6 separate regions of the Homo sapiens genome follow, and regions 2, 3, 4, 5 and 6 are each linked to region 1. Evidence: promoter capture Hi-C in 16 types of primary human blood cells and fetal thymus (Javierre and others, 2016). All regions are on one chromosome and are shown on one strand. The core of a region is centred on a gene start or on the middle of the fragment in contact, and the rest is flanking DNA. Distances in the headings are between cores, read along the strand shown. Region 1 holds the start of HDAC11-AS1 (HDAC11 antisense RNA 1). Region 2 overlaps IQSEC1 (IQ motif and Sec7 domain ArfGEF 1). Region 3 overlaps IQSEC1 (IQ motif and Sec7 domain ArfGEF 1). Region 4 overlaps LOC105376957 (a long non-coding RNA gene). Region 5 has its middle 6.5 kb from the start of WNT7A. Region 6 has its middle 43 kb from the start of IQSEC1.

Region 1 (4,910 bases), core at 1,011-3,510:
GGCAAGTGAAACTGCCTTTTCCCATTTTGATGACATAATGTTTCCTTTTAAAACAAGTTTAAGTGAATTTCCCACCTAAATCAGGCCCCTTGATTACAAACCACAGTTAAAACGATATGCTCTTCGAAGCATCATTTTGCTCAAGGGGATGAGCCCTAAAGGTAGGGCGCCTGGAGCTCTGAGTTCCAAACCCAACTCCGCCTCTTGTAACTGTGTTACTTCAGCCACTAATGGGAGCTGTGTCCTTCCCTGGAAAGAGGTCACAAGCAGGCAGCCAGTGTGCCCAGTTCGGTCTACAGGTGGGCTTTTACAATCTTATAATGAGTGCCATATTAAGAAATCAGGGCCGGGTGTGGTGGCTCACGCCTGTAATTCCAGCTACTTGGGAGGCTGAGGCAGAAAAATTGTTTGAACCTGAAAGGCGGAGGTTACAGTGAGCTCCTGAGCCTCTGCTGCGATTGTGGTGCCTACCCCGAGGGCTGCTGTGAGGACTGGACTGGAATTGGGTGCACATGTTTCCTAATCATTCTAGGACACAATTTCCCCCATCTGTAATCAAGAGAGGTGCGGTGGAGGTGCTCTACCTCCTGACTCTCTGAACCTTAGGAAATGGACTCCTCCAAGCTTCACCTTCCCTGTGCCCATCAGTAATCAGCTACCTTTCCACTAGGCCTCTTGGGCAGAGGCAGGACTTAGGCCCACAGGATGGGGAGCCAGGGAGAGTCTGAGTCAGGGACATCATATCGTGATTAGGAGTCTGTGTTGGAAAAATCATTTTGGGCGGAAGCATGGGTGGAAGGCCATCCGAGGGCTGAAACTGAAGATGGGAGAGAGCCTGAGGCTTATGTTGGGGATGAGGACGGAGAGGACAGGTGGGTTGGAGGAAGCAGATGAGAGTCCAAGGGGGACCTTCCATACCTTTTAGGAAATTGATCACTTTGCCCCATTTTCCGGCATCAAAGGGATGCAGCTTCTCCAGGCCCATGAAGGTGATGTTGTAGCGCGGCGAGTACACGATTGGCCAGCGTGTCTCTGGCACATGCTGGTACAGCTGGGTTGTGTGTAGCCTACCGTGTGGAAAAAGACAGACGCACAGCTGGGGCAGCCTCGGCAGAAAGCAGCTCCCTCCCGAGCCCGCCTGGACTGACCCACCAGCCATTGCCCAGCACCACTAGCCCCTCAGCCGCAGACAAGGGCCCCTCAACAACAGCTGCTTAAACTGGCTGCCTTTCCCGGAACCCAATTCCAATCCAGTCCTCACAGCAGCCCTGGGGGTAGGCACCACAATCGCACCAGAGGCTCAGAGAGCAGACCAGGTGTGCCCAAGGTCACAGTGCAGGTCTGTGGAGAAGCAGGCGTGCACTCAGGTGTGTCTGGCTGCAAGGCCTCCGCGCATCACCTCTGCACCGTAATAAATGCCCCCACAGCTGTGTGGCACAAGGCTTCGGCTGCAAAATGTGTGGCTGTTGTGAGGACTCAGAGAATGCAACTGAGGAGCTGAGCACAGTAAGCACTCAGAAACCCAAGTCGGGACCCAACCTGAGCCAGGGCGGGGGGCGGGGATCCCCTGACCCCGCTGCGCTGCTAACCCTTCCCATCACACCCTGGCAGTCGTCACCCAGAGACAGAAATCCGCCCCAGTGGCTGCCTCCGTGGGGGCGTCCGCGTAGCCAGGGGGCTGGGCAGCGCAGACGTCAGACCCGCGCACATCGCCCGACCGCTCCGGGTCCGGGCCCAGGCCCGCGGCCGGCGCGCGTCCCTCGGGCCACCGAGCAGGGGCGCGGGGCTGGCCTGGCGCGCCGGGAGGGCCTGGAAACACCCGTCCCGAGCGTCCCTCACCCCTCACCAGCAAATCTGGGCCCTTACCTGGCGCGCCCGCCCGGCCGTCCCCGCCCTCGCCCTAGCGCGCCCGCCCACCGGGACCCCTGGGAGCCCACCCCCGCCCTCGCCCCGCGGCACTCACATCCCGGGGCCGGCCCTCCCAAAGCTGGCCGCAGCTCCGCGACCGGGCGGGGCGGGGCGGGGCGCGGGTGGGGCCAGCCCAGGACACGCCCCCGGGCTTAGCCGCGTCCTCTGGGGGCAGAGCTCTGGCCGATTTGGCCCGCCCCGCCAGTGTTGCGACACAGAGAGCCTGCCCGCAGGAAGGCCACCCCCAACGCCCATCAAGCCCGAAGTCCCGCCTCCGCAGGCAAATACCCGGTGGAATCCCGCCTGGTTCGGAAGCTCCGCCCCCTGGCGGGAGGGCCAAGCGGGTTTCACCCCGGCCTCGCGGAAGGGGCGCGACCACCGTATGTCCTGTTCCTGCGCTTCCCAAGCTGGGTAGAAACGGCGAGAGGCTGGGGGTTAGAAACGACAGGTTCCCGGCGGGCTGTGCCGGGGCTTCGCTGTGTGACCTTGGGCTGGCGTCTGGGCTCTCTGGGCCCTTGTTTCCGCGAGTTAAACGTAGGGGCGGGGGAGTTTCTCTGGCCCTGCCGCCTGTGACCTAAGGAGCCCCGTGACCTCTCCGACCCGAGCCCACCCCCGGCCCAGTCTGCGAGCAGCTCCGGGACAAGCACTCCCGGCGAAGACATGTAGGCTCTCAGAGCCTGCGTTTCCCTCTGTAGAGCAGGCCTAGTTACTGTCTTCAGGGTGCACGCGTCTCCGTCCCCGACCCGCACCCTCACCGCCGGGGTAAGCTGAGCCAGGCCCAAGCGACAGCTGGGGTTGTCCGTGGGGCTGCAACCCAGGAGGAGGCCCCAACAATAGAGCCCCAGAGGACGGAGACAATGGGCCTCTCTGTCGGCCCAGCCGTCCCCGCCATCCAAACAGAAGCAGCTGACGGAGGACTGCCGGGCTGGGATCCCTGGGCTCCGCGGGGGCGGCTGTGTGCCAGGGCGGGGCACAAGGGAAGCGCACAGACGTTTGAAGAGGGGCCCCCGTGTGCCTGCCATGATTGCATGATGGCATCTGAGCCTCACAACCTAATCCTGAGAAAGGTGCCATAATCACCCCAACTTTATCTTGAGGGAACTGAGGTTCGGGCCTGGATTAAACCCAAACTCGGCCACCCGCCAGCATAGTGGCTTTGGGCAGGTTGCTTCAGCCTTCTGGTCCTTCATGTCTGCATCTGAAAATGAAGTACTGGGCCGGGTGCGGTGGCTCACGCCTGTAATCCCAGCACTTTGGGAGGCCGAGGCGGGTGAATCACCTGAGGTCAGGAGTTCGAGACCATCCTGACCAACATGGTGAAACCCCGTCTCTACTAAAAATACAAAAAATTAGCTGGGCGTGATGAAGGGCGCCTGTAATCCCAGCTACTCGGGAGGCTGGGGCAGGAGAATCGCTTGAACCGGGGAGGGGAGGTTGCGGTGAGGCCGCGCCATTGCAATCCAGCCTGGGCGACAAGAGTGAGACTCCATCTCAAAAAAAAAAAAAAGGAAGAAAATGAAGTTCTGGTTGCACTTCATTCTCTGGATTTCATGGGCAAGTCCAGGGAATCAAGAGACAATAATGTTGATTATTATTCAGAGACCATCTGTCATGTGCTAAGTTGAAGTCCAAATGCTTTTTGCTTGTCGAACTCTTCTGACAGTCCTAGGAGGCAAACTATTGTCATCCCCATTTTATAGATAAAGAAATTGAGGCACAGAATGGTGAAGTAACTCACTCAAAGGTCAGGGATGTGGGCAGATGTAAACCACAGAAGGAATAAGTACTATTTTATAAAGTGACAGAGTGCATGCAGTGGCCCTGTGGCATTTGTGAGAGACCGACTTCCCCTCAGGGAACTTGCTCTGTAGTTTGGGAAGCCACACAGATGATCCTCTGGTTGGGAGAATGAGGATCTGGGCAGCCTGGACCTGAAGCTGAGGCCAAAGAGAGTGGGATTGGTCTGAATAAGTGGGTTTTTAAATTTTTTTAATTTTTAAATTATTTTTTAAGAGACACAGCCTCACTATATTGCTAAGGCTGGTGTCTAACTCCTGGGCTCAAGCGATCCTCCCACCTTGGCCTTCCAAAGTGTTGGGATTACAGGCATGAGTCACAATGCCTGGCCAAGGGTTTTTAAAATTGTGTCCTGGTAGCTAAAGAGTTAAGTGGTCTGCGGAGGCCCTGGAGCTTGTGAACACCTTCAAACCACCATGAAAGCCTGGGCCAACCGGCCGCATTATCACGTGGGGAAGAAATAAGTGTTATGCACGCTGCTGTGTTTGGGGGCCTCTTTGTTGCAGTATCCTAGTGTGTCTGCTCACTAAGACACAGCACTGGGGACACAGCTGCACAGAGCAGATGAGTTCAGAAAGCCTTTGTCAAGCTAATAGTTTAGTGGGAGAGACAAGCCTTAACCTAGGAAGGAAAATTGTGATTACAAAATGTGGTAACTGCTGTGAAAGGCATAGGCTGAGACTGTGAGAGAGAGAATAATGGGGTCCCTGATTTGGACAGTGGTCAGGGAAGGCCCCTTTGAAGAAATACATTTTTTCACTTTTTAACCATATGTATTTTATTTTTAAATGGCATTTAATGAAACAAGACACTGACTTATTGAACATTGTATACTTAACTGTTTTTCCCCTTTCATGCAATATTGAAATATATTTCAACTTAAAACAAATAAGAAAGTCCCAAATATAACACTTCTTTTGAAAAATACAGGCACGGCTGGGCGCGGTGGCTCACGCCTGTAATCCCAGCACTTTGGGAGGCCAAGATGGGCGGATCACCTGAGGTCAGGAGGTCAAGACCAGCCTGGCCAACATGGCGAAATCCCATCTCTACTAAAAAGTACAAAAATTAGCCAGGTGTGGTGGCAGGTGCCTGTAATCCCAGCTACTCAGGAGGCCAAGGCAGGAGGAGCTTGAATCCAGGGGCGGAAGTTGCAGTGAGCTGAGATCACGCTACTGCGCTCCAGCCTGGGCAACAAGAGCAAG
Region 2 (4,910 bases), core at 896-3,395, 490 kb after region 1:
TCCACCTGCCTCGGCCTCCCAAAGTGCTGGGATTACAGGCGTGAGCCACCGCGCCCAGCTGTCCTTTTAAATAAATAGTATTTCATTGTATCGACAGGCCACAGCTTATGTATGCAGTCTACTGTGATGGACCACATGGGTTGTTTTCAGTTTGGGGCTGTTGCTCTTGAACCTGTGTCCCAGCACACATGGCATGAGCTGTCTCTGGGGCACATACTGGCTGTAAAGCAAGCATACAGCCTTGCCCCAACCCCACACTGGGCATTGTCGGTCTTTGTCGTTTTCACTCACCTGGTGGGTGGGTAATGGTTTCTTGCTGTGGTTTGAATTTGCATCTCCCCGATGAGGTTGGGGATCTTTTGTTTGTCCATTGGCTGTTTGGATTTCATCATTGGTGGAGTGCCTGTTCATGCCTTTCACCCATCTTGGGCTGTCTTTTTATTTCTTTACGATTTGGAGGCTTCTTTGGGTGCTACAGATTCTAATCCTTCGTCAGTTATCCACATTGTAGACCTCTTCTCCCTCCCTCCTGCCTGCCTTTTTCACTCTTTACAGGGTGTTGGGATAAACTTCTCAATTTCAGAATTCTTAATTCAAGTAGTCAACTTTCTCACTTTATTAACATTTTTCGTGTTTTGAGAAACTCATTCCTACCCTGTAATCATGAAGATTCTCGTTATTCACCTTTCACATTAGGTCTTTAATCCACCTGGAATAGATTTTCATCTACGGTCTCTCTCTCTCTCTCTGACACATGCACATGTGTGCACATGCACGGCCCCAGGTGCACACATATACCCATTCCCAGGTGGCCCGGCACCATTTGGTGAGAACCGTGTTCTTTTCCCTACCTGCACTGCCCCCAGCACGTACCATACCTCTCGCTACAAGGCAGGCAGTGGCCCAACTGCAGGCTGTGGGCTGGGAGGTGGTAGGGACAGGGCGAGGGCAAGGCGGACAGCCCTCCCCGCCCCCAGCAGGACCAGCTGCTGCTCCTGCCAAACAGGTCTGTGGGGCTGCAGTGTCACGTGTCTGGCTGGCGCTGACTCGGGAGCTGGCGGATTAAGCAGGGGCTCAGGGTTTATGACCCGCACTGGCCGCAGCACCAGATGGGGGACGGCTGAGGGAGCTCATCTGTGTGGGCAGCAGAGGAGGCCTGAGAAGCCAGCCAGGCTGCGGCTGTTTGTGGCAGGAGGCCCCCACCCACAGCACTGGACCAAGGTAAGGGAAGGGTGGGATGGGCCAGCCCCACTATTAGTATCTCTAGCTGGAAAATAAAATGTCCCCTCCCAAGCTCCTTCTATCTTGGTCTGTTGGGGCAGCTGAGATCTGGGAGATGCCACAGCCCACAGCAAGCCCCTGCCGGGTCTCGGTCCCCTGTGGGGAGCACACATGAGCTCACATATGCGCACAGGCACCCTGCCAGCCTGGTTCTCGTCCCAGCTCCTCGTCCTCTTCAGTGCCTAGTATGTGCCTCTGGGTGGGAGGGTCACTGCCAGCCGTTAGCCTGCCCCCTAGACCCTGGTGCCTTTCCCCAGGCGGTGCCCCATGCCTGGCCTGGCAGGACGCAGCCAGTAGAGGACCGACCTCCCACTCTCGGGTTCACCAGGCAGGGGAGAGGGGAAGGGAATGAGTGCGTGCTGAGCACCTCTGTGTGTCAGATACCTCATCTTGGGCCATCGTTACTCCTGCCTTCCAAGGTAGGAAAGATTCACCTGTTTCATAGATGAGGAAACTGAGGCTCACAGAGGGGCTGAGGATGGCCACCTGCATCTCAGTAGTCTGCCTGTGTGACCCCAAGGAAGCTGCAGGCTCTGCTCCTGGCCCCCGGGGAACTCTCAGTTGTCTGACAAGGCACATTGCCTCTGGCGCAGGGCTGCTGTTACCTGGGGCTCCAGGGAACTCTAGGCCTCTGGGGAAAAAGTCGGGACAAAGAGCAGGAGCCAGAGCCTCAGGTCCCAGCCCAGCTCCCAGCCCAGCCTGTGACGTAGCCTTCCCTGTAGCATGCTGTCAGCCTTGGCCAGTGGGTGTGACCTGGGCGCAGGGGTCCAGCCTGCGGTGACCTTGCTCCATTTCCTCGTTTGTAGCATGGAAGATGTCAGTAATAGCATCTCCCTCCTCAGGTCGCTCAGGCTGAAATGAGATGGTAAAGAAGGGCTTTCAAAACATGGCCCAACAGGCAAGGCCCATGGGCACTCAGTCAACCCTAGCTTTCATTTTTACAGAGAAGGTCAGTATCTGGGGTCCCTTCATCTTCTGAAATTCTGAGCTCCTGTCTCTTTCTTTTCTGCCTGGGCCATTTATGTATGGGTTTAGATCTATGAATTTAATATTTGCTTAGGAAATACAGGCCCATGATGAAAATCTTAAACATTATAAAAGAATATGCAGTGAAGACTATGTATGTGCCCCCCTAGAAACATGGAAAGTATTTTTCAGGTATCTGGTCAAAAACATATAAACGTTTATCACCCTCCATCCCAGACATACTTGGGCAGTTTGGTCCTCCCCTATCCAGTGACCCCCCCCACTCTGCCACCCGTCCTTTAAATCCGCCCACTCTGGCCTGGGGAACCCAGGCTGCTGCCTCCCTCCAGAAGTCACACATATTTGTGGGTGCTGGCACCAGATTTTCCTTGTCAGCAGGACTTAAGGAAAGCTGCAGCCTGGCACAGGGCAAACGGTTGGCGGGGGGGGGGGGATTGTTAAGCAGTAAAGAACGGTGTCTCTGTGCCCAGTGAAGGCCCAAGTTGGAGACCAGCTCTCCCACCCCCAGGCTCCAGCAGATCTGGATCTAGAGCAAGGGCGGGGCCTGGGGACCTGACTCGGGCCCAGCCTGACTGCCAGCTGGCCATTGGGTGACCTTGAGGCAGCCCTGGCCCTCTCTGGGCTCCTGACTCAGTGTGGGAGCCCAGCGTGTATGGCAGCCTCAGTGAGAGGGCTGAGGGTGTGCCCCCTTCAAGACCCAAGCAAGCCATACCTCACCCAGCCCACTTGGGCTAAAGCCTGTGATGTAGGGATGCAGTCTTGATTGCCTTAAAAATTTGACTACTTAAAAATGTAATTGCGGCTGGGCGCGGTGGCTCACGCCTGTAATCCCAGCACTTTGGGAGGCCGAGGTGGGCGGATCACGAGGTCAGGAGATCGAGACCATCCTGGCTAACACGGTGAAACCCTGTCTCTACTAAAAATACAAAAAATTAGCCGGGCGTGGTGGTGGGCGCCTGTAATCCCAGCTACTCGGGAGGCTGAGGCAGGAGAATGGCATGAACCCAAGAGGCGGAGCTTGCAGTGAGCCGGGATAGCGCCACTGCAGTCCAGCTTGGGCGAAAGAGTGAGACTCCGTCTCAAAAAAAAAAAAAAAAAAAAAAAAAAATGTAATTGCTTTAAAAGTGTTAATAGTGCACTGGGAGGAAGCTGAAGGCAGTGCTAAGTCTGGCTAACATGTTTTCTCTTGATCTTGTGACTTCTGGACCTGTAAGCGACTTATCTTTGTCCATGTAAATCTCCTAGGGGGCTGAGGGGTGGGGCTTTATCTTTCCCCAGGAAGGCAGCAGGTGGTTCCATGTGGCTACAGGTCGTGCATGCATGGCCCTTAGGCTTCCCAGCCCCCTGAAAGGAGGAGCAGCATTCACTGTTGGTCTTGGGAGGGTGGCAGGTACCCAGAGTCACTGTCACCCTGTGGGGCAGAACTCCAGGCACTCCCAAATGTACAGATACTCAGGTTGTGCACTGCATGAGGGCAGTTGGCAGAGGAACAACTGCACTCTAATGGCATTCTTGTTAGCTCAGCCCTGGGCCTGTGGGGCTGTATCCACCAGAAGAGGGCGCCTTTTACAAATTTACTCAGGGGCCCTACATGTGGATGGTGAAACTAGACTTGAGTATGCTCGCTAGCAAAGGCATGGGGTCTCCTCCCTATCTCCCCGTGGTCCTCCTGTGCTCAGTTGTCTAGAATCTCCCTCCAGGGACTCTGCTGGTAACCCCAGGGGAAAGGAAACTCCAAACACCTTCCCCGATCCATGGGAGCGGCTTGAGTTAGACCCAGCCTGGTGAATTTCAGAGAGAACTGGACCATGGACCTGACCTTGGGGGCTGGAGGATGGCCTGACTTAGAGAAGGCCTGGGTCCCTATCTCAGTTCCAGCTGTTTCTGGCACTCTGTACCTTGGGTCAGGACAGCTCTGTGCAGACCATCTGTTTACCATGTTACTATCCCCCAGAACCCACGTATGAAAGGCCCTTACCTCTCTGCCTGCCCCCTTGAAGGTAGGTGCTTTATTTTTAAAGGCATGTGGATTTGGGGACAGGGACATACATGAGCTGGGCATATTCATTTCATCCACAAATATTTATCCAGCAGCTAGTTGTGCCAGGCGCCGTGCTGAGGCTGGGCATAAGTGGGGTATGTCGGACAACCTTATTCTTATCCTCACGGAGCTGTCCAGAGGGGAGAGGGAAAGGGAAATTGTCCTCTGAACAGCATCGCCCAGGTGCTGGGAGGAATTGCCCAGCGTGGCCTGTGAGGTCAGCCCAGGCGTCCCTGAAGGAGCTGAGCCAAGAAGGTGGAATCGGGGCTGAGTGGGCTCCAGGGGCTGGCTCAGCACCCCCTCTGGGCACCCTGCTCAAGGCTGGGGCATCACTTCATCCTGGCCGCTCTGTCTCGGGGCTAGGAAGGCCAGGCTGCAGTTCTCCAGCAGGGTGACAGGTGGTGGGTGGGCTGGACCTGCCAAGACCAACCCAGTGAGAGGTGGGGCTGGGGATTGCTTTGGTCAGGCCAGGAGTGAGCCATGCTTCCTCCTGCTCCTCACCCGCCCCCAAGCCAGCACCCAGACTGCAGTTGTCACCACGCCACCTTTCATCCCCTCCGAGGACTGCTCTACCAGCTGTGCCCTGAGCTGTCGTTTTAAT
Region 3 (4,910 bases), core at 1,750-4,249, 440 kb after region 1:
CAGGGCTGCTCAGTTGCCCCAGGACCTGTCCTGGGACCACCTGCTGGGGCCTGAGTGGACATGGCCCCCAAGGGGTTTGCTGTGTGTGTGGGACCATAAGTAACCCTGTCTCGCTTTTGCCACCTCAGGAGCTCCCTGGACACCGGAAGCAGCCTCTCCACTGACCGCTACAGGTACTGTCTTGCCGTCCACCCCAGCCTGCCCCAGGATCTCCTTAGGTCCTCACTGCCCATCTGCACCCAGAGGCAGGCCTCCAAGAGCCCTTTGGGGGAAATTAGCTCCACCATTTGGCCCTGAAATTCCCCCAAGGGCCAGAGGTACTACTGATATGTCCCCTGAGAGCTTCTACAGCTTGGAGTGGTTTCCCCTCAAATCAAGGTCCCCCCAAAGACCAGGACTGCAGTCGAAGTTCTGCCCCCAAAGACCAGAGCTCAGCTGAAGGCCCCTCGGAGGATCAGGCTGCAGCTGATAGTTCTTCCGAGATCCAAGGCTGGTGGGTCTCCCAAGGACCAGCCTGCAGCCGGCAGTTCCCATGACGACCAAGGCTGCAGCCCAGGGGAGAAGCCTGTTGGTTTCTATTGGTGTGCAGCTGCGCTTGGTGGGAGCTGGGGTGTCTGAGGGTCTCTGCTTCCGTGTGCTTTGTATCTTGATGTCTTCCAAAAAGAGCATTTTCTGTTTTCACACACACAAAAAAATACTGGAGACTGCGCTTAGAGGAAAGCTCCCTTGATTGGAAGCCAGCAGATCCTTGTTCCAGTCTCGTGGGCAAGAAAGACAAGTGACAGGCAGACTGTCCTGGCAGTGGAGGTGGCTTAGAGGGCTGTGTTCGGTGCATCGATGTGAATTGGGGAGGAGGGGACATCTGTGCTGCGTTGTAGAGGTGACTAGAGGTTGACTGGTTCCCTGTTTGGAGGGTGGGAGACAAGTGGTCCCGGAAGGGAGCACCCTGTGTAAGGACCTGTGGAGGGTGGATGTGGCCGGGCCATGGAGAGGGAGGAGGGGAGTTGGGGGAGGTTTGGGAGGGAGCTTCGTCCTGCTAAAGAGCTTGGCTTCTGGGAGAGGGGGTTTTTGAACAAGCCCAAAAAGAGACTCACAAGGTCGTAGGCCCTGTCCCTGGAGACAGCAACCAAGGGCTGGGCCCCACGTGTCAGGGTTGCAGCAGATGCTATACAGGAAGGAGATGTCAGAGCGACCGACTCTGAAACTCTGGGCTGCAGGGAGCGAGGGGGTGGCCATCTGGGCCCTGCTTCCCTGAGCCAGCTAGGGACTGGCAGCCCCGCCGCGTGCGCTCCTGGAGGACACAGCCAAGTGGTACACACGTGTACACACATGAGCGACACGCTCACGCAGTCACCTGATCCTCTGCACGGACACTCCACAGTCACACCCACATATCATCATAACAGTACTTCCTTTGCTTTGTGAAAGCTGACAGCCCTTATGGCCCAGCGAGTCAGGGCTATTGTTAGCCCACTCCACAGACGTCACCTGCTCAGGATTCGAGACTGCGGGGGCAGAGCCGGGATTTGAACATTTGGGTATCCTGGTGTGAATACTGCCCAACACCGTAGCACACTCCCTGCCCTCATACTAGTAGTTCCTCATATGCCCATTGCATAATCTCACACGCACACACGTATACACACAGACTCCAGAACATTCCCACACCCAGTTCTTCCTGTAGTCAAATGCTAGCATTGTCACTTTTGCACATGGGTGAACACACAGCCCCCATTTTGACACATATGTGCTTGCGGGCTCACACTGGTACACACACTCTCACCCCTGATGGGATGGCTCAGGGTGCCAGCAGGCGTGTGGGTTCCTGTGTCAGGGTGGCCCCAGGGAAGGAGGCTGAGGAGGCTCCTGTAGGGGCTGAGCCTGGCCTCTGCACCACCCACCCATGCCACGGGCGCCACTGCAGCTCCATCTGAATTGTCCACTCCGCCGGCCAGTCAGTCAGGTGCCCTGCTCGAGGCCAGCCCAGGAAAGTTCTGGTATGCAGGGAGTGTGGATGGGGCTCTTTGTTCTAGGATGTGTGGGGGCCTAGCAGGTTCCGTGCTCCTGCCCACTTGGGTCTCACTGCACAGCCCTCCATCGGATGGAGCCACACTTGACCTCAGAGCCAATGCCCCAGTGCCTCACTCCCTGGAGGACAGAGCAGGGATCAGAGCGGAGGCCGTAGGAGCCCCTCAGCTCTGCTGTTTCCCCGCCTGCATTCAGCCACATTTCCTGAGCACCTGCGGGTGTCGGGCACTCAGGATCCCTCGTTGAGCAGTCCTGCTGCCTTCACAGAGCATCTGTGGCAGGCAGGAGCACAGGCAGCAAGCAGAAAAAGAAACTGGTTTTTAACATAACGTGTCAAGTGGTGACAAGAGCTATGGAGAAAATAAATCCAGGTGAAGGGAATAGACAGAGATGGGAGGGTGGCCAGGGAAGGCCTCTGGGCCTGGAAGCACAGGAGGGGTGAGGAGCATCCCAACAGTCTGGTGGGAACAGCGGTGCAGAGGCCCTGGGGTGGAGCATGCCTGGAGGAGTGGCCAGGAGGCAGATGCTAAGTGGGGCCTGCCCCATCCTGCCATCTTGCCTTGGCATGCGTCCTGACTCCCAACCCTCACAGCAGCCTCAGACACAGACAGGGCCAGGATCAATGTTCCCCTTTCACAGATGAGGGTACCTGAGACCAGAAGAGCATTGGTGCCAGGTCCAGGACTAGGGCCCAGGGCCCCCGCTGCTACCAGAACTCTGTGCCCTTTTTGTGCAGTGGAGGCACCAGCTCTGCTGCTGGGGGCAAGCTTCTGAGAATCCCAGCCTTCGGAGGTTCTGGAGGCCTGTGCACAGCCTAGGAATTCAGAAACAAAGGTCCCAGCCAGTAATTGCTGCCTTTCAAAGGCACAGCCGGCTTCCTCTGCCACAGGCGTGAGAGGGAAGCTAATGTCCTTCTCCAGGAGTGTGGGGGGGCGGGGGAGGAGTGGGCAGCACTTCAGGGCTGCTGGCCCCGCCTGTGCTACCTTGCCAAACAGGCTCATCACACTCGGCAGATCGCCTCTCCCCTGCCTGCCCCCAGTTATCAGCCCAAGTTGGGGTGTCTTGCGTCCAGCCTGGGTCCATTCCGATGACACTGGGTGTCCCCCTTTACCTCTGGCCTCGCACTCCCCGACTGTATTATAAGAGGCTTGGACCCAGCCATTTGGAAAGCTTTCCCTTTCCAGCCATCCAGGACGGGTACCTCCAAGGGAAAGTGACTACAGACAGGGTCTCCCAACCTTGGCACTACTGACATTTTGGGCAGGACCATTCTCTGGTGTGGGGGCTGTCCTGTGCATGGTAAGGTGTTTAGTGACATCTAAATGCCACTGGATGCTGGCACTCTCTCCCCATTTGTGACAACCAAAATTTCTCCAGATATTACCAGATGTCCCTGGGGGTGGGGGGATGACCCAGACGCCTCTGGTTGAGAACCATTGCTCTAGAAGCAGCATTTTTGCTAATGACACTGAGAAAATGCCACCTGAGGTGGGAGACTTTGTTCTTTGGCTTTGCATGGGGTGAGATCAGGCCTCTGGTTCCCAGCCTGGCCCTTGGAAGCTGAGCAGCCTTGCTAGAGGCACACAGAGCCTTGTCTTTTTTGTGGCACCAGCTCCCATCCGACCGCCTGGATGTCACCCCCCTGAGCAGCAGCTCCTGGACTCTGTGTGCACACCTCTGGGGATGGGGTCTTCTCTGTGCCTCTGTTTCCTCATCTGAGGGGGAGTGGGGAGGTAGCAAGACCTCCTCGTCTGAATGGAGTGTGACCACTGCTTTGCAAACGATGTCGGGTTGTGCAAACCTGGGCCCCAAAGCGGCCAGAGGGGGTGAGTGTGGTGCCTCTGAGAGCCTTTCACACACTATACAAGATCCTTCCTTCCTTCCACAAATGATTATCGAGGCTCCTCCAGTGGGCCGGCCCTTAAAAGAGATGTGGCCCCTGCCCTGGAGTCGTTGCTTGTAGTCAGGAGAAAGACAGTTAACAAGTAAACATGCAAAAGCAGGATCCTTTCAGAGGATGGGATGTCCCATGGAAAGAATCAGACAGGGTAGTGGCTGAAGGGGGCTGAGCTGCTATAGCTTAGACACGAGGGGTGCTGGAGTGGGACCTGACTGACGAGGAGGAGCGGAGCTGCAGGAAGTGCACCCGAGAGCAGACTGCATGGAACCAAAGGGTGTGCCGGATTCATGGGGGTGAGGGTGGCTACTGTATCTGGGACCCAGAGCCTCAGACTTTCAGGTGGCTAGTGTGTGGGAAATGGGCCATGGGAGGGTTGGAGCAGACGCCGGGACCAGCCAGATCCCAGGAGATACAAGGGGAGAGGTGAGGGTGGGCCAGGGACTCCTTTCCTATTGTCTGTGACTGCCAGGTCCCCTGGCCTGTGGGGCCACCCATTCTGCCTGGGGTCCCTCTGCCCAACAATGCGCCTGGTTGTCTGTGGCCCTGCAGCTCAGCCGCTCCCCTCCCTGGTTAGCGACAGGATTCCCCTGCCGGCAGCCAATGAGCGGCTGTCATAGCGGTTCCATTTTAGATTTTATCAATGTGTCCCCGTCGCCCAGGCAACGGCAGGCGCTGGGCGACCCTGTCAGTCTTCCTTCGCCTGCCTTTCAGAGCCCAGCTGCCCCCACCCCAAGCACCATGTGGCTACATGGTGAGTTTTCCCTCGCACAGGCCGAACAGGGATTCCGCCAAACGTAATTTATCTGGCAAAAGAGGCCAGTGTTTGCCTGTCATCTGGCCCCCTCCCTACCTGCTCTCCCTGGGTCTTCCTGGCCTCAGCCACTCTGGGCCAGCCAGGCGGGTGTAGGACTGTCCAGCCAGTGCCGGCCCCACCACCCGGAGCCCCAGGGCCTGGTTGGAAGAACAGACTTGCAGAGCCACC
Region 4 (4,910 bases), core at 795-3,294, 420 kb before region 1:
TGGGGGTAGAGATCAGAGCTCTGTCTATAGAACACTTGCTGGAGTGGCTGAAGCCCCTGCAGGGAGGTCTCACCCAGTGAGAAGAAATGGTTCAGGGTCCTGCTTAAAAAAGCAGTCTGGCCAAGATCTGGCAAGGCAGCTGTGCTGTCCTGTGGGGATCCCCCCCTTGTTCAGACCACCTGTATTTTTCAAAGCTGGCAGGCTGAAACAACTGAGTCTACCAAACCACAGAGATGGCAGCCACCCCTACCCCTGGGAACTTGGTCCAGACTCAGGCAGACTCCAGCCTACTGCTGCCGGCTGGCTGGAATTCCAAGCCATTGGGTCTCAACCTGTGAGATGCCATGGAAATGGGGCCTGCAGAATGATGCCACTTGGCTCCCCAGACTCAGCCCCCTTCCTAGGGACATGCACAGATGAATCTTCTGCCTTGCCACAGATCCTGGGGCTGGAGTATGCAAAACTCCTGGGTGTCTGTGTGTGCCTGAGTGGCCACTCTGCCAAGACTCCACACAGGCCATGTATCGAGCCCAAGACCCTGGTATTGTGGCTCATGAGGGGATCTCCTGATCCACAGCTTGCAGAGATCCATGGGATGAGTGTAATTTCTGGGGAAGGGTCACGCATTGACTCACCACTTCCCTTGGCTGGGGGTGGGGGTTCCCTTGGCTTGGTGCTGCTCCCAAGTGGGTCATCACCCCACCCCACTTCTTTTCATTCTCTGTGGGTCAAGCTATTTGCTTAGTCAGTCCCAATATGAGAACCCGAATATCTCAATTGAAGGTGCTGAATTCACTTGCTCCTTTCATTCCTCTCTGTGAGTGCCACAGACTGCAGCTACTTCCAATCAGCCATCCTGGCCCCTCAACAACCAAATGTGATCAATTCTTAGTATACCATCCATACACATGCTGAAATACCAAAAAAGATTTCTGAAAAGAAAGCAAAATATTACAGAAATAAGTGCAATTACTATTTCAGCACAAGATTTTTGGTAGAGAGGAAAAGATTAGATTTTGTTAATTTGGGCTCAAATCCAATGCATTTTTCCCTCTACCTAATGAAATATTACTGAATTATCATATGGCTTAGAGACTCCATTGTAGGGTTCACTTATACCCCCACATTTCAACACCTCTGAATCATGATGCATCTTATAATCAATGAAATACCATAGTCTAGGAGGTTTTTTAAGTCTTAGTGGTACACAAAATAATGGCATATCTCACAGTTCATTACAAGTTTGATTTGATAAAATATGGTACATGACCCTCATAAATAGGTTTCCCTTCTAACTTGTTGGTTTAAAAAATAAAAGTAAGGTACTACGAGAGTAGGGACTCTGAATCATACCCTATCATATTCCTATTCCTTTCCAGTGTATTTGAATTTTTATTCTGCTACCTGAATTAATTTAAATTATGCAAAAAATTATAAACACTATACTGAAGAATCTTAAAGCTTATAAGTTTTTCTTTTTGGTATCTGATAATATCAATTTATTAGAATATGTTTACATGAATTCCAAATTTTCCAAATTAATAGAATAATTCAGTATGTACTCAGGATGAATTTAGTGATTTACAAAGTTTCTTTTCCAGGTGATTTTCCCAAACTGGCTTTTCACCTGTATGAGTTCTCACATGTTGTTTATCCACGTGCATGAGTCTTTACATGCCAAGTAATTAATGAACTCTTATACATTCTGATGAATGTAATAAATTGATAATGTTTTCTCCAGTGTAAATTATTTGCTCTCTAAATGAGGTCTTTATAGCTAAAGGCTCTGTGACATAATCATGAGGTTTCTCTTCAATGTGCATTCTCTGTGGTTAATGAGGTATCTAAATAATTTAATACATTGACTATATTAATGAGATTTAGGAGTATTAGGAGTTTTTACATTAGTAAAAGAGAAGTTATTTTGAAAAGTATTTCCACACTAATTACAGTTTATACTGTATTCTCTCCAGTATGAATTCTCCAATACTAATGAAGGATGATTTATAGTTAAAGAACTGCCCACATTGCTAGCATTCAAAGGACTTCTTACTATTGTTGTACAGAAACTGAGCTACAGGTACAAGGTTTCTCACATTTACTACATTCACGGGGTTTGTAGTGGGTTGAATAGTGTCCACCTCCCCCTCAAAATTCACATCCACCCAGAATCTTGGAATGTAACTTTATTTGGAATGGGGTCTTTTCAGATGTAATTATTGAAGATAAAGTCATACTGAAATTAGGATATGCCCTAAATATGATGACTGGTTTCCTTACAAGAAGAGTAGAAGAGACAGAGACACACACAGAGAAGAAAGCCATGTGAGGATGGAGACTGGAGTGATATAGCTACACATCAAGCAATGCCAAAAATTACTGGCAACCAGCAGAATCTAGGAGAAGGGCATAGAACAGTTTCTTCTTGAGAGCCTCCAGAAGGAACAAACTTCCCAAATCCCTTTATTTCTGACTTCTGGCCTCTTAAGCTGTGAGAGAATAAACTCCTGTTGTTTTAAGCCACCCAATTTGTGCTTATCTGTTTTGGCAGCTATAGGAATCTAATTTCCCCTCCTGTGTGATTCTTCTGATATACAATAAAGTATTATCCACTGAAGAAAGCTTTGCCATATTTGTTATATTGATTAGGATTATCATTTCTACAAATTTTGGGTGGCTAAAGAATTTTAACCCCTGGTACTGTGGCTTTTTACTTTAATTAAAATCATAAAAATTCTCTCCAGTATGACTTCTCTATGCACAATGAAGTGGAATTTTCTAGTGAAGGCCTTCCTACATTTATTACACTTATAGGAACCTCTACACTATGAACCTCTTGATGTCTTATGAAGTTTGTTATAACTGAAAGTTGTCCCACATTATTATATTAAAAAAAGTTTTACACATGCATAGGTTGAACTAATAATTTCCCACATTTTTATGTTTATAATATTTCTTGCTAGCACAGTTTCTCTCAACTGTATCAAAATTACACTTCAAATGCCCTCAAATAACTATGAGATGCTGCTTTCCTTGGAGGAATTAGCTTTGAGCTCAGATAAAAACTGGCTTCCAATTTTACTATATTCATTTCCTTTCTCCACAGTCAATGCTTTATTGAAGATGAATGTACCTAGCTTCAAGTCTCCCTCCCCTCCTTTTGAAATAAATTTTACAAAGAGCTTTTCCTTGTGAATATTCTTTCAGTCAACTTAGGAATACCCTTGTTCAGAATTGTCCTATTGTATGTTTCATGTCTCACCTTCTAGAACTATTGAGAGCTCAATTGCAAATGACCTCTTCCCTAGCTGAAAAAGTACTCATTGTAAGACAACTGGTGCAGAAATAAACAATTCAGGGAAGATAACATTTGAGTAATTTCAAACATGATCTTGCATTATGCAGAAAGCCAATAAAATAATCAGAAGGAAGATGAAAAGATGAAAGAGAAAGTATATAGAACAGAGAGTAAGCACAAAGAGGACTGGACAGGAAACGGAGTTACTAGAAATAGCAGCTAGAGTGATGTCAGAAGGGAATGGCAGAATAAGGACCTCCAAAACTCCCCTACTCCATAAAAGCAATGGGAACACAGGCAATAATTATTGAAATCAAGTCTTTCAGAACTCTAGAAATTAACCAAAATCTTATAATAATCCAGAGAGCATTTATTCAAGAAAATGGCTGAATATTGGTAAGGACAGCATTTCTTTTGGCATATAAATTGCTCTATTCTTACTCACTTTATCCCAACTGCACAGCACCTTTGAAAATCAAAAATCAGTAATCATAGTTAAAATCTGCAACCTAGCAGCTACTGGAGAGGAAGAACAGGTTGAAACATCCAACACCCCAATCCTAGACAACTGTCCTTATTTAATCTGGAGCTTCCTAAGAAAGCGCCACTCAAAGGTCTTCTCTTTATTTTACCTCACTCAGATTTCCTGCAGTGTGAAAGGCCTTTTCTCCACAGGCATTCATCAAAAATCATCAATGGCAAGTGTTTAATACTGCAGCTGCCTGAGGTAGTGATAAGAGTGGATCAAATAACAAGCTAACCAAAAAAGCTTTTAAAAAGTAAAATCCAGGGAACAAAGTGTCCATGGGGGGCTTTAAGCATGCATAGGAATAGCATGCATACTCAGGACTATAAGTATGCTAGGAAAGACATGACAAGGCCCTAGGTTCTCACCTGAGGCTGTCCAGGAAGCTCTGCACGAGCCAGAAGTAAAATCTAAGACAGGGTCATGAACTGCCTCTCCAAGTGTTGAGAGCATGCCTAGACACACACACACACACACACACACACACACACACACACAGTGCCCCTCAGCAGTCCAAGAGTCTTAGTTCTATACTTTAAAAAAATATATCTCCAATTCATAGCTGATTTGCATGGTAGCAAAACAGAGAGTTCAGTGGCCACAAATGAGAACAATATACAGACTTTCCTGAATGAGCCTGATCCCATATCTCAGAGCCCACCAGTGTTAATACCCTGGGTGGGTATCCTTTCATCTCATTCTCTTTAGTCATAAAAAGTATCTATCTATGGTTGTTGCCTCCATTTCCTCAACTCCTATTCTCCCAGAATGCATCCAACTGGCTTCTGTTTCCTGCATCTGAAGGAAAGGACACTGGTTCCACTGAGAGCCTCAAGTAACATTCATGGTGCCAAAACTAATGGTTCCCTCTTAGTCACTCTCCTGCTCACTTTCTTAGTGGTCTTCAATGCAAGGTGGCCCCACCTTTCTTCTTGAAATCATCTCTTCTCAGATATCCATGTCATTACATTTACCTCGTTTTCCATCTACCTAACTGGATGTTCTTTTCTATCTCTGTCATAGACTTCTCCTCTGCTCCATCTCTAGATATTGATGTGCCCCAGGACTCACAGAAAGGCTCTCCAT
Region 5 (4,910 bases), core at 1,440-3,939, 410 kb before region 1:
TTCTCATTCTTGGAGCCCTGAGCATTCCTCTCTGGAAACCTGGGAGTCCATAGATCCCTTTTGAAGAGACAGAGACTTAGAGCTGGCATGCCTTACTCCATTTCTGAGCTGGAGAAATCAAGGGCCACAGAACAGTGGGGACCCACTGTTCCCTTCTCTGATCCCTCTAACCTCTATCAGCTGATTTCTCACTGGTATGAGGAAGAAGTGTCCCAGTCACCATTGTATCCAAATGCAAGGGGCTCCCCTGGGATGAGTGAGCCGCTCTCCCTGAGAGAGGTTTGAGCACAGTTGGCCACTACTCAGTGGAGATGGGATAGACTTCCCTCCACCTCTGCCAGGAAGTCCAACTTGGGAGGTCTTGAGGGGGACCTGGGCATCTGTTTCATACCTAAGTAATTTGGATGCACATAGTAGTTTGAGAAACAGTGGCCCTGATCATCTTTAAGATTCCTCTGATCCTAGAGGGCTGGATTCCAATACACATCTTTATCGCCATAATCATCATCATCAAATAACTATCATGTGTTGAGTGCATGCTATGTGCCAGTTGCTCTGTGAAATGTGAATGTGTTATATATATGATTGCTGTAACCTATGAGATGGCATTATTATTATCATCATCTCCATACAGATACGGAAATAGGCTAAGGGAGGTTCACCATTTTCCTAAGGTCACACAGCAAGAGGCTGAGCCGAGACTCAAAGCTGGGTGTGTTGCCCCAGTGCCCTAGCAGTATTTCATATCCAACTCTGCCCCTAGCTGGCTATGTGCCTTTGGAGCCTCTCGGGCCTGCAATGGGGCTCAGTCTCCCCACCTGTAGGATGGATTGTCTCTTTGCAGCCTCTTCCACAATCTTGGCCCCCAGATTCACAAACAGATTGATGGTTCAGCAAGGGAGTCAATAGGACTTTGGCAGCAGGGGGAGGGAGACATCAATTTTCCAGCCCCAAGGCCCATGTTCCAGCTCCTCCCAGTCAGGATGCTCTGGTCCTACCCATTCTGCCCCCAACTCCTGCCCCCTTGATAACACTGAATCACTGGCCTGGGTGAGGCCTACCTCGTGCATAGCAGTGGGTATTAGGAATGCTGGGATGGAGATGAAATCTATGTAGGCGAAATCAGTGCAAAGGAGCCTATTATTAGCAGGAGTGAGGAGATGTGGGAGAAGACAAAAAGGGAATGGAGACATGTGTTAACATAAGTGCCAGACACTCAGCTAGACGCTCAGCTAGATGCTGGGTAAGCAACTTAACCCCTCAACATCTCAATTTTCTCTTCCGGAAAATGAGGTTTTTATGAGGAGTGCATGAGAATCATCCAATTATTCATGTGTCTAACAATTATTCATCAAGGGCCGCCCATGTTCCAGGCATCATTCTATGAAATGCAGCTGTTAAGTAACAAATATTCCTACTTGTGGGGCAGACAGTGCAATGAGGAAGATAGACAAACAAAAGTCAACAAATACACAATGTAAAGTTGGGGGGTGCTGATACATTCTAGGCATATAAATAAAGCCAGAGTAAGAGGTGGTCTAGACAGTGCCATGAAAGCGCAGGGTACTCAGGGGTCACCCCCATGGGGCAGCGATGTGGGAGGTGATATTCTGCTTGAATGAAGTAATGGGTGAACCATACAGCCATCTGGGAAAAGTGCTGCCAGCAGCAAAGAAATATAAGGCATCCATCAGACAGCCTGGCACATACTAGGTCCTCAGTAAATTGTGCATGCTATCACAGTGCAAAGAGAGAGGCTGTTTCCTTATTTGAGCAGATGGATGGTCTCTGTGTTCCTGCTGCTCCCCAGCTGTAGGAATGTAGTCTTCAGACCCCAGCTTTTTGCCCTGCCTGCTCTAATCCTGGGAGAGAGGACCTGGGGGCCAACAGCTCCAAGGCAGAAGGAGGAAGAAGAGATTCCATCGGAGGCAGCACAACCTCCTACCAGCCTGGCGCACAGAGGGGGGCTCCCCAAGCAGACACCATGGTGCCAGTCACAGGAGTTGAATGCTGGATAGCCACAAAATAATAGAGGCTGATCTCACTGGTGAAAACCCACATGGGACTGGATAACAGCCCTGCTCTGACAATGTGGGTGCCTTCCCATCTACAGGATGAAGGCTACAGGCCTTTACAATTGACACCCTAATGGCTTCTGCCACCTCCTTCCCACCTCTCCTTCTTTCCAGCTCCTCTGCTCTCCACGGGCTGATTACCCGGGGTCTGGTGATCATCACTGGGTGTGCAGCTCTGGGTGCCCTCTGGAGGTGCCCATGTCAGGGGATGGGGAGCAAACAAACACACAGATGAGGCTGTGGTGTTTGTGGTGTTTATGGTGGCTGCTTGAACAGGGGCTAGCACAGAGGCTGTGGAGGTCAATATCCTTTTGGAGGAGTTGGCCAGGGATGGCTTCTGGAGGAGGCAAAATGAAGCTTGTTCAGTTCTCAGCTCTTCAGAGCCTTCTCTGGTCACACTACCTGAGGTTCCCCACGGAGCTGTTCTGTGTCACAGCTCTGAATTTCATTTTCTTCTGAGAACTTTCCCACATGAGAGTATTTCTTTCCTTCATCAATTCATTCAACAAAAATGATGCTCCCGCTGGGTGCAGTGGCTCACGCCTGTAATCCCAGCACTTTGGGAGGCCGAGATGGGCGGATCACAAGGTCAGGAGATGGAGACCATCCTGGCTAACATGGTGAAAGCCCGTCTCTACTAAAAATACAAAAAATTAGCTGGGCATGGTGGCGGGCACCTGTAGTCCCAGCTACTCGGGAGGCTGAGGCAGGAGAATGGCGTGAACCCAGGAGGAGCTTGCAGTGAGCCGAGATCGAGCCACTGCACTCCAGCCTGGGCGACAGAGCGAGACTCTCTGTCTCAAAAGAAAAGAAAAAAAAAATGCTCCCAGTACAGGGCTCCCAGCAGCTCCAAACACTTACTGAAAGCTTTGGCTATGGTTTATGCTGCTGAAGTTTTCTTCTAAGCATCAATGAAGAAAACGGAGGGACCAAACACAGGTGGAAAGTCTCTATAATCTCACCCTGGGGGACCCGCCGTTAGAGACCACCTTAAACACAAACACCCTTTCTTGATCCGTGGCAGCACCAATGGTGGCGGTGGCCTCTCTCTTAATTTAATTTACAAGCGTGTACACGGCACTGGCTATGTTCCTGGCAATGTGCTAAGCACTTTACTTGTAGTATCTCAAACCTCAAAACTACCCAAGGAGGTAGAAACCATTACTGTGCCCAGTTTACAGATAAACTGAGGCAACGAGGGATTTAAGTAACTTTTCCAAGGTCACAAAGATAATAAACGGTGGAGCCAGGATGTGGACACCTCTAGAGCCCTCACTGACAGCAGTGTCTGGTATACAGCAGGACTCCATATCCCTTAGAGATTATTGCTGTGGCCGAGATCTAAGCTGATCTCCTTCTGTATCCAGCAGGGGGCGACAAAGCACCTGGCTGACTGTGCACCTGCCCCAGGTATGGTTGATTTGGCTTAAAGAGGAACAGTACCTGCTGAAGAGGTATCCTTCTCACTTCTTAATCCAGGCAGAGGGAGCTAAATGGGGAGAAAAATTCTGGGCTAGCATGACTCTGCCAAAGAAGAACTTTCTGCAATGGGTCCCATTGAAACAGTCATGAAACCGTTATTCACACTAGGTTCCAGGTTTTGGAATGAATCCTTGGAGGAGCTCCCAGTCAGGTGAAGGATTAAATTACCTGAACATTATTAGGCCCACAGAAATCCAAACAAGTTAAAAATAAACCGTTCTGGATCACGAAGCTAGTAGGTCTCAGAGTTGGGATTCAAACTCAGACCTATCTGACCCAAAAGTCTGAACTCTTTTTACCAAACCATGGTCCTCATGTTGATGAAAGCCCTGTCCTGGGTGCTGGAGACAGAGATGAAGGATACAGCGTTTTTCCCACAAGGAGATTATGTCCTGATGGAGGAGGGAGGGGAGTGAGGCCATACAACATTTGGGGTGGGAAGGGCTCTGCCAAGATCAGCACAAGAAGGGTGAGAGCACAGAGGAAGAGATGCATTAAAAGGTGGTCCCTTTGAAGATCATATCTATTGTGTTTACTGCTGTACCCCAGCAGTGAACCCAGCCCAGGGCCCAGCACAGTTTAATCCTCAACGAATGTTTGATGACTGAATGAATGAGGAAGACACCAAGTGCCTAGGATAGGAGTAATGTAGATCAAGGAAGGCTTTTCAGATGAGTTGACATTTGGGTGGGATTTGGAGGATAAGTTAGAAGTTTACCAGGTAGAAAAGAGCTAAAGGCATTCTAGACATATGCAAAGGAAAACAGGCTGCAGTAGTAGTCTCTCAACTTTTTAAAAAATCCTAACCCAAAATGTATACACATACACATCCAATACACACACACACACACACACACACACACACACACACGCACACACACAGTTGGAACCTTATGCATAATGCCCTCTGTTATTTTCTGATCTATTTCTTTTTGTAAATGCTAGTGGCAACCCACTAATTTGTTGTGATATGTGCACAAGTGTTTGGGGAAAGTGGAGGCTGTAAAGGTAATTTTGAGCTAGACCATAAAGATCTCTGGATGTTAGGCTGGTAAGATGGAACCCTTTTTAGTTCTGCCTCTCCTTCCTTCCCTGTGAAGCCAAACACTACAAATTCCTTTTCCTTCTCTCACTGTCTGATGAACTCCCTGCCTCTCAGGCTTGTCTTTGTCACCTTTAGTCCCTCCATTTCCCCAGCTGGTTCTTTAAATCATGCTGAATTCCTGGGGCTCTGCACTGGGCCTTCCCCACTCATCCTTCTTGGTCTCCCAGGGTGTCCTCTCCTTGCCTTGATTTGAATGTCTGCCCACTTCTAGCTGGGGATATCCAACCTAGAAGTGACAGCCCCAAGCC
Region 6 (4,910 bases), core at 1,167-3,666, 360 kb after region 1:
TTTTTTTTTTTTGAGACAGAGTCTTGCTCTGTTGCCAGGCTGGAGTGCAGTGGCACGATCTCGACTCACTGCAACCTTTGCCTCCCAGGTTCAAGCAATTCTCCTCTGCCTCAGCTTCCCAAGTAGCTGGGGCTACAGGCGAGTGCCACTATACCCAGCTAATTTTTGTATTTTTAGTAGTGACGGGGTTTCACCATGTTGTCCAGGATGATCTTGATCTCTTGACCTGGTGACCCACCACCTTGGCCTCCCGAAGTGCTGAGATTACAGGCATGAGCCACCGCCCCCAGCCCATTTTAACCATTTTTAGGTGTCATGACGTTAAGTACGTTCGCAGTGTTTTGCAGCCAACACCACCATCCATCTCCAGAACTCGTTCTTTTTTTGCAGCTGAAACTGTCTCCATTAAACAATAACTTTCTATTCCCTCCTCCCCAGCCTTTGGCAAGCACCATTCTACTTCAGGTCTCTGAATTTGACAGCGCCAGGGACCCCATATAAATGAAATCATTCAGTATTTGTTCTTTTGTGACTGGCTGATTCCACTTAGCACAATGTCCTCAAGGTCATCCGTGTAGTAGCCTGGGTCAGAAATCCCTTCCTTTTAAGGCTAAATAATACTCTGTTGTATATATGGACGAAATTTGTCTATCCGTTCACCCATCAATGGTCACTTTGGCTGTTTTCACCATTTGGCAACTGTAAATAATGCTGTTATGAACATGTGTGTGCAAACATCTGTTCGAGACCCTGCTTTCAGTTCTTTGGGGTCTATACCCAGAAGTAGAATTGCTAAATCAGATGATAATTCTGTGTTTGATTTTTAAATTATATTTAAGTTTTTAAATGGACACATAATAACTGTACATATTCATGGATTACATCATGATGTTTGGATATATATAATTCCTGGTGATCAGACCAGGGTGGTTAGCACAGCCATCATCTCATCGGTCATTTCTTTGTGTTGGAGACATTCAATAGCCTCCTTCTCGCTATTTGAAACTATACGTTATGATTAACTGTAGCAAACACTACCTACAGCCACCATACTTACTGTATTCCACAGTGGCTGCAGCATTTTACACTCCCACCAGCAGTGCACAGGGGGCCCGGTTTCTCTGATAAGGATACTAGATCCTTATCAGATATGTGATTTGCAAATACCTCACCGATACTTATGTGTTGTTTGTTAGTTTTTGAGACAGCGTCTCACTCTGTCAGCTAGGCTGGAGTGCAGTGGTGTGATCTTGGCTCACTGCAACCTCTGCCTCCCGGGTTCAAGTGATTCTCCTGCCTCAGCCTCCTGAGTACCTGGGACTACAGGTGCACTCTACCACGCCCGGCTAATTTTTGTATTTTCAGTAGAGATGGGGTTTCACCATATTGGCCAGGCTGGTCTCGAACTCCTGTCCTTGTGATCCACCTGCCTTGGCCTCTCAGAGTGCTGGGATTATAGGCATCAGCCACTGCACCCAGCCGTGGCTTTTTTTTTTTTTTTTTTTTTTTTTTTTTTGAGACGGAGTCTTGCTCTGTCACCAGGCTGGAGTGCAGTGGCGTGATCTCGGCTCACTGCAACCTCTGCCTCCCGGGTTCATGCGATTCCCCTGCCTCAGGCTCCCTGGTAGCACGCCACCACGCCCGGTTAATTTTTCGTATTTTTAGTAGAGACGGGGTTTCACCATGTTGGCCAGGATGATCTCGATCTCCTGACCTCGTGATCCGCCCGCCTCCGCCTCCCAAAGTGCTGGGATTACAGTCGTGAGCCACTGCATCTGGCCGTTTTTTTTTTTTTTCTAATGACCTGTTAGGTGGTATCTCATTGTGGTTTTGATTTGCTTTCTCTGATGACTGGTGATGTTGAACATCATCTCATGTGCCTATGGGCCATTTGTGTATCTTTTTTGTAGAAAGGTCTATTCATGATTTAATCGAGTTGCTTATCTTTTGGTTGTTGAGTTGTGACACTTCTTTATATCCTCTGGATACTAGATCCTTATCAGATATGTGATTTGCAAATATTTCCCATTCTTGGAATTGTCTTTCCACTTTTCTTCATAGTGTTCTTTAAATCACAAAAGTTTTTAGTTTTGATGAAGCCCAATTTATCCATTTTTTCATTTGTCGCCTATGCCTGTGGTGCCATCTAAGAAATCATTGCCAAATCCGATGTCATGAGGATTTACCACTGTGTTTTCTTCTGTGGGTTTTATTGTCCTAGCTCTTACACTTAGGTCTTTGGCCCATTGGGAGTCAGTTTTTTTGTTTGTTTATTTGTTTTTGTTTTTGTTTTTTTGAGACAGGACCTCACTCTGTTGCCACTACCACCTGGCTAATTTTTGTATTTTTAGTAGAGACGGTTTCACCATGTTGGCCAGGCTGGTCTTGAACTCCTGATCTCAAACGATCCACCCACCTTGGCCTCCCGAAGTGCTGAGATTACAGGCGTGAGGCACTGCGCCCGGCCGGGAGTCAGCTTTTGTGTATAGTGTCATGGAAGGGTCCAGCTTCATTCTTTTGCATCTTTTGCATGTGGATGTGCAGTTATCACAGCACCATTTGGTGAAGAGACTGTCCTTTCCCCATTGTATGTTCTTGGCACCCTGCTGAAAATCATTTGACTGTATATGCGAGGGTTTATTTCTGGGCTCTCTATTCTAGTCTGTCTGTTTTGGTAAGTTGGGTTTTATTAAAACACAGCCACACCCATTCATTTATATATTGTCTGTGGCTGCTTTCTAGAGAGAATGGGCAGAGTCAGAGTAGTTGTGACAGAGAACATCAGGATCGCAAAGCCAGAAACACCATCTGGCCCCCACATATAGCTCCTACCTGCACGGCCCCATCGGCTGCCCCTGGGCCCTGAGTTTCCCGCAGCCAGCACCTGGCCTGGCACACAGGCACCTAGTCAGCACTGGAGTGACTGCCCTCAGGGAGCTGGGAGGACTTCCACGCGCCTCTGCCTGGCTCACCCTCCAGGGATAAAGTAGCAACAAGGTTAAAGTCCTATGGGACCCTTCTTCATTGCCTGAGGGATCCTAAGGGACCCTTCTTTCCTGCTGATTTGGCTGAAGGAAAAACTGAGGGGGCGTAATTGCAGGGAATTGGTTAAACTTTCATAGCATTCTGGGGGCTCCCTGATGCTTCCGATGCTAACCTTTTGGTTGCTGGAGAATGGGAAGGTGGGGAGCAGGTCCAGGCAGGTAGCCATGCAGTGGGAGGGGTCCACTGGGGGCTCAGGGCCAAAGGAGAGAGTGTTTTTCTGTTCAAGGGTAGATATGGAGTAGGCATCTGCCCTCAGTAACAGTGCCTAGCTCGCCTGTGAAATGGGCTAGCGTGCATTCAGCGCCCGGAGAGGGTCTGGTGAGTGCCCACTTCAGGCGCCCAGCCTTGGGCCTGCCAGGGCCAGAGACAAGTGACAGGGGCCAGAACGTTCTGACAGCCTGAGCCCAGGTGCCAGTGTGTGCCCCTCTCGAGTGACTCTGCAGTGAGACAACGTATTCTTGTTCCTGCTCTACTAGTGAGGAAATAGGGCAAGAGGTGGGAAGACTCATCCATGGCCACCATGGTAAAGTGCAAGGCTAAATCAGGGGGCTCATGCAGACCAGCAGCACCAGGACTTTGCTAAGAGGGCCAGGCTGAGGGAATGGGGACAGGAACACCTGTCAAGAGACATCATGGGGGCCCAGACCCCAGAGGGACACAGCAACTCAGTACCACTTCTGGCCAGGCCCTCATCCTGAAACTGAGCTCCTCAGAGCACCTGGCCAGGCAGGACGCCCCAGAGTGAGAGGGGAGAGGACTTGGCTAGAGGAACGGGGGAGGGAAGCGGGGGAAATGAGCTCCAGATGGGGGAAAGGGATGCATTAAATCAGGCCAGGACCAGGTAGGGAAGAGCCAGACTCCCTGGGCGTTACATTGCTCACTCAGCCATGGCGCTCCTCAGCTCACAACCCATCTGTGGCTCCCTGTGGCCGCTAGAAGGAAATCCACATTCCATGGCTCTACATTCAAGGCCGCACCTGAGCTTCCAGCCCCCACAGCCCCCCTGCCCGGCACCTCCAGGGCCTCCCCACACTGCCCAGCCTGGGGCTTCCTGCTTGTCCTGCCTCACTCACCCACGCAGGCTGCTCAGCCTCTCCTGAACCGTGCATGGGCCCTACCGGCTCCCGCACTGGCTGAAATGCCACCTCCTCTCCAAATCTTCACAGTGCTTGGCTCTTCTCTTTGGCACCCGTCACCCATCGTCCTTCCAAGGTCACATATTTGTAATTCTTTTTTTTTTTTTTTTTTGAGACGATGTCTCACTCTGTCACCCAGGCTGGAGTGCAGTGACGTGATCTTGGTCCACTGCGACCTCCACTTTCTGTGTTCAAGTGATTCTCCTGCCTCAGCCTCCTGAGTAGCTGGGATTACGGGCACCCACCACCATGCCAGGCTAATTTTTTGTATTTTTAGTAGAGACAGGGTTTCACCATGTTGCCCAGGCCGATATTGAACTCCTGGCCTCAGGTGATCCACCTGCCTCTGCCTCCCAAATTGTTGGGATTACAGGCATGAGCCACTGCACCTGGCATATATTTTTTTATTTTAAAAAATGTCAGACCCAGGGAAAATTTGAAATAACAACACAATAAATACCTATACAGACTTTTCCTGGGTCCCCCACCTGTTAACATCTTCTGTGGCCAGTCCTTCTCTCCCTGTGGGAACATTCACCTGTGTCCCCCTTTTGCCCACCTGCAGGCCATGAGTGCCGTGACACCCCACCTGTAATTCTTGGGCATATATCCCCTGAGAACAGGGACACTGTCCTAGAGAGCCACACCCGAGAAAAACACCACCAATTCTGTATCCCCACCCGCATCCTGCAGGTGTAATCAGCAGCACATGCGTGGGTTCTCCTTCAG

The links. The method cuts DNA at HindIII sites, captures the fragments that hold promoters and counts their contacts. A CHiCAGO score of 5 or more calls a contact.
Region 2: a contact is called between a fragment that was not itself captured here and the fragment with the promoter of HDAC11-AS1 in region 1, in 1 of 17 cell types (naive B cells). The highest score is 5.4, in naive B cells.
Region 3: a fragment that was not itself captured here is called in contact with the fragment with the promoter of HDAC11-AS1 in region 1 in 1 of 17 cell types (fetal thymus); the score reaches 5.2 in fetal thymus.
Region 4: a contact is called between a fragment that was not itself captured here and the fragment with the promoter of HDAC11-AS1 in region 1, in 1 of 17 cell types (naive CD4 T cells). The highest score is 5.2, in naive CD4 T cells.
Region 5: a fragment that was not itself captured here is called in contact with the fragment with the promoter of HDAC11-AS1 in region 1 in 1 of 17 cell types (naive CD4 T cells); the score reaches 6.3 in naive CD4 T cells.
Region 6: a contact is called between a fragment that was not itself captured here and the fragment with the promoter of HDAC11-AS1 in region 1, in 1 of 17 cell types (total B cells). The highest score is 5.1, in total B cells.

What each region holds. Positions count from the first base shown.
Region 1 is chr3:13,477,403-13,482,312 of GRCh38, reverse strand. HDAC11-AS1 (HDAC11 antisense RNA 1) reads left to right here and starts at 2,260. Exons shown (of 2, transcript NR_046690.1): 1 at 2,260-2,670. It overlaps HDAC11 (histone deacetylase 11), which reads right to left and starts at 2,007. Exons shown (of 10, transcript NM_024827.4): 1 at 1,964-2,007; 2 at 919-1,067. The coding sequence starts at 1,965. RefSeq lists enhancers at 1,286-1,942, 2,592-2,651 and a silencer at 1,642-2,131. The HindIII fragment of the contact is 8,461 bases long and covers 627-4,910 here.
Region 2 is chr3:12,983,282-12,988,191 of GRCh38, reverse strand. All of the region lies in intron 1 of IQSEC1 (IQ motif and Sec7 domain ArfGEF 1), which reads left to right. Among named protein-coding and RNA genes, the nearest start is that of IQSEC1, 88 kb to the left of the region's middle. The HindIII fragment of the contact is 7,589 bases long and covers 1-4,910 here.
Region 3 is chr3:13,042,741-13,047,650 of GRCh38, reverse strand. All of the region lies in intron 1 of IQSEC1 (IQ motif and Sec7 domain ArfGEF 1), which reads left to right. Among named protein-coding and RNA genes, the nearest start is that of IQSEC1, 28 kb to the left of the region's middle. RefSeq lists enhancers at 155-673, 1,029-1,448, 1,889-1,968. The HindIII fragment of the contact is 403 bases long and covers 2,798-3,200 here.
Region 4 is chr3:13,899,662-13,904,571 of GRCh38, reverse strand. LOC105376957 (a long non-coding RNA gene) reads right to left here. Exons shown (of 3, transcript XR_001740602.3): 3 at 1-932. Among named protein-coding and RNA genes, the nearest start is that of WNT7A, 22 kb to the right of the region's middle. RefSeq lists a silencer at 286-580. The HindIII fragment of the contact is 1,161 bases long and covers 1,464-2,624 here.
Region 5 is chr3:13,884,138-13,889,047 of GRCh38, reverse strand. No RefSeq gene overlaps it. Among named protein-coding and RNA genes, the nearest start is that of WNT7A, 6.5 kb to the right of the region's middle. The HindIII fragment of the contact is 510 bases long and covers 2,435-2,944 here.
Region 6 is chr3:13,114,176-13,119,085 of GRCh38, reverse strand. It overlaps a transcript of IQSEC1 not described here. Among named protein-coding and RNA genes, the nearest start is that of IQSEC1, 43 kb to the right of the region's middle. The HindIII fragment of the contact is 5,310 bases long and covers 1-4,910 here.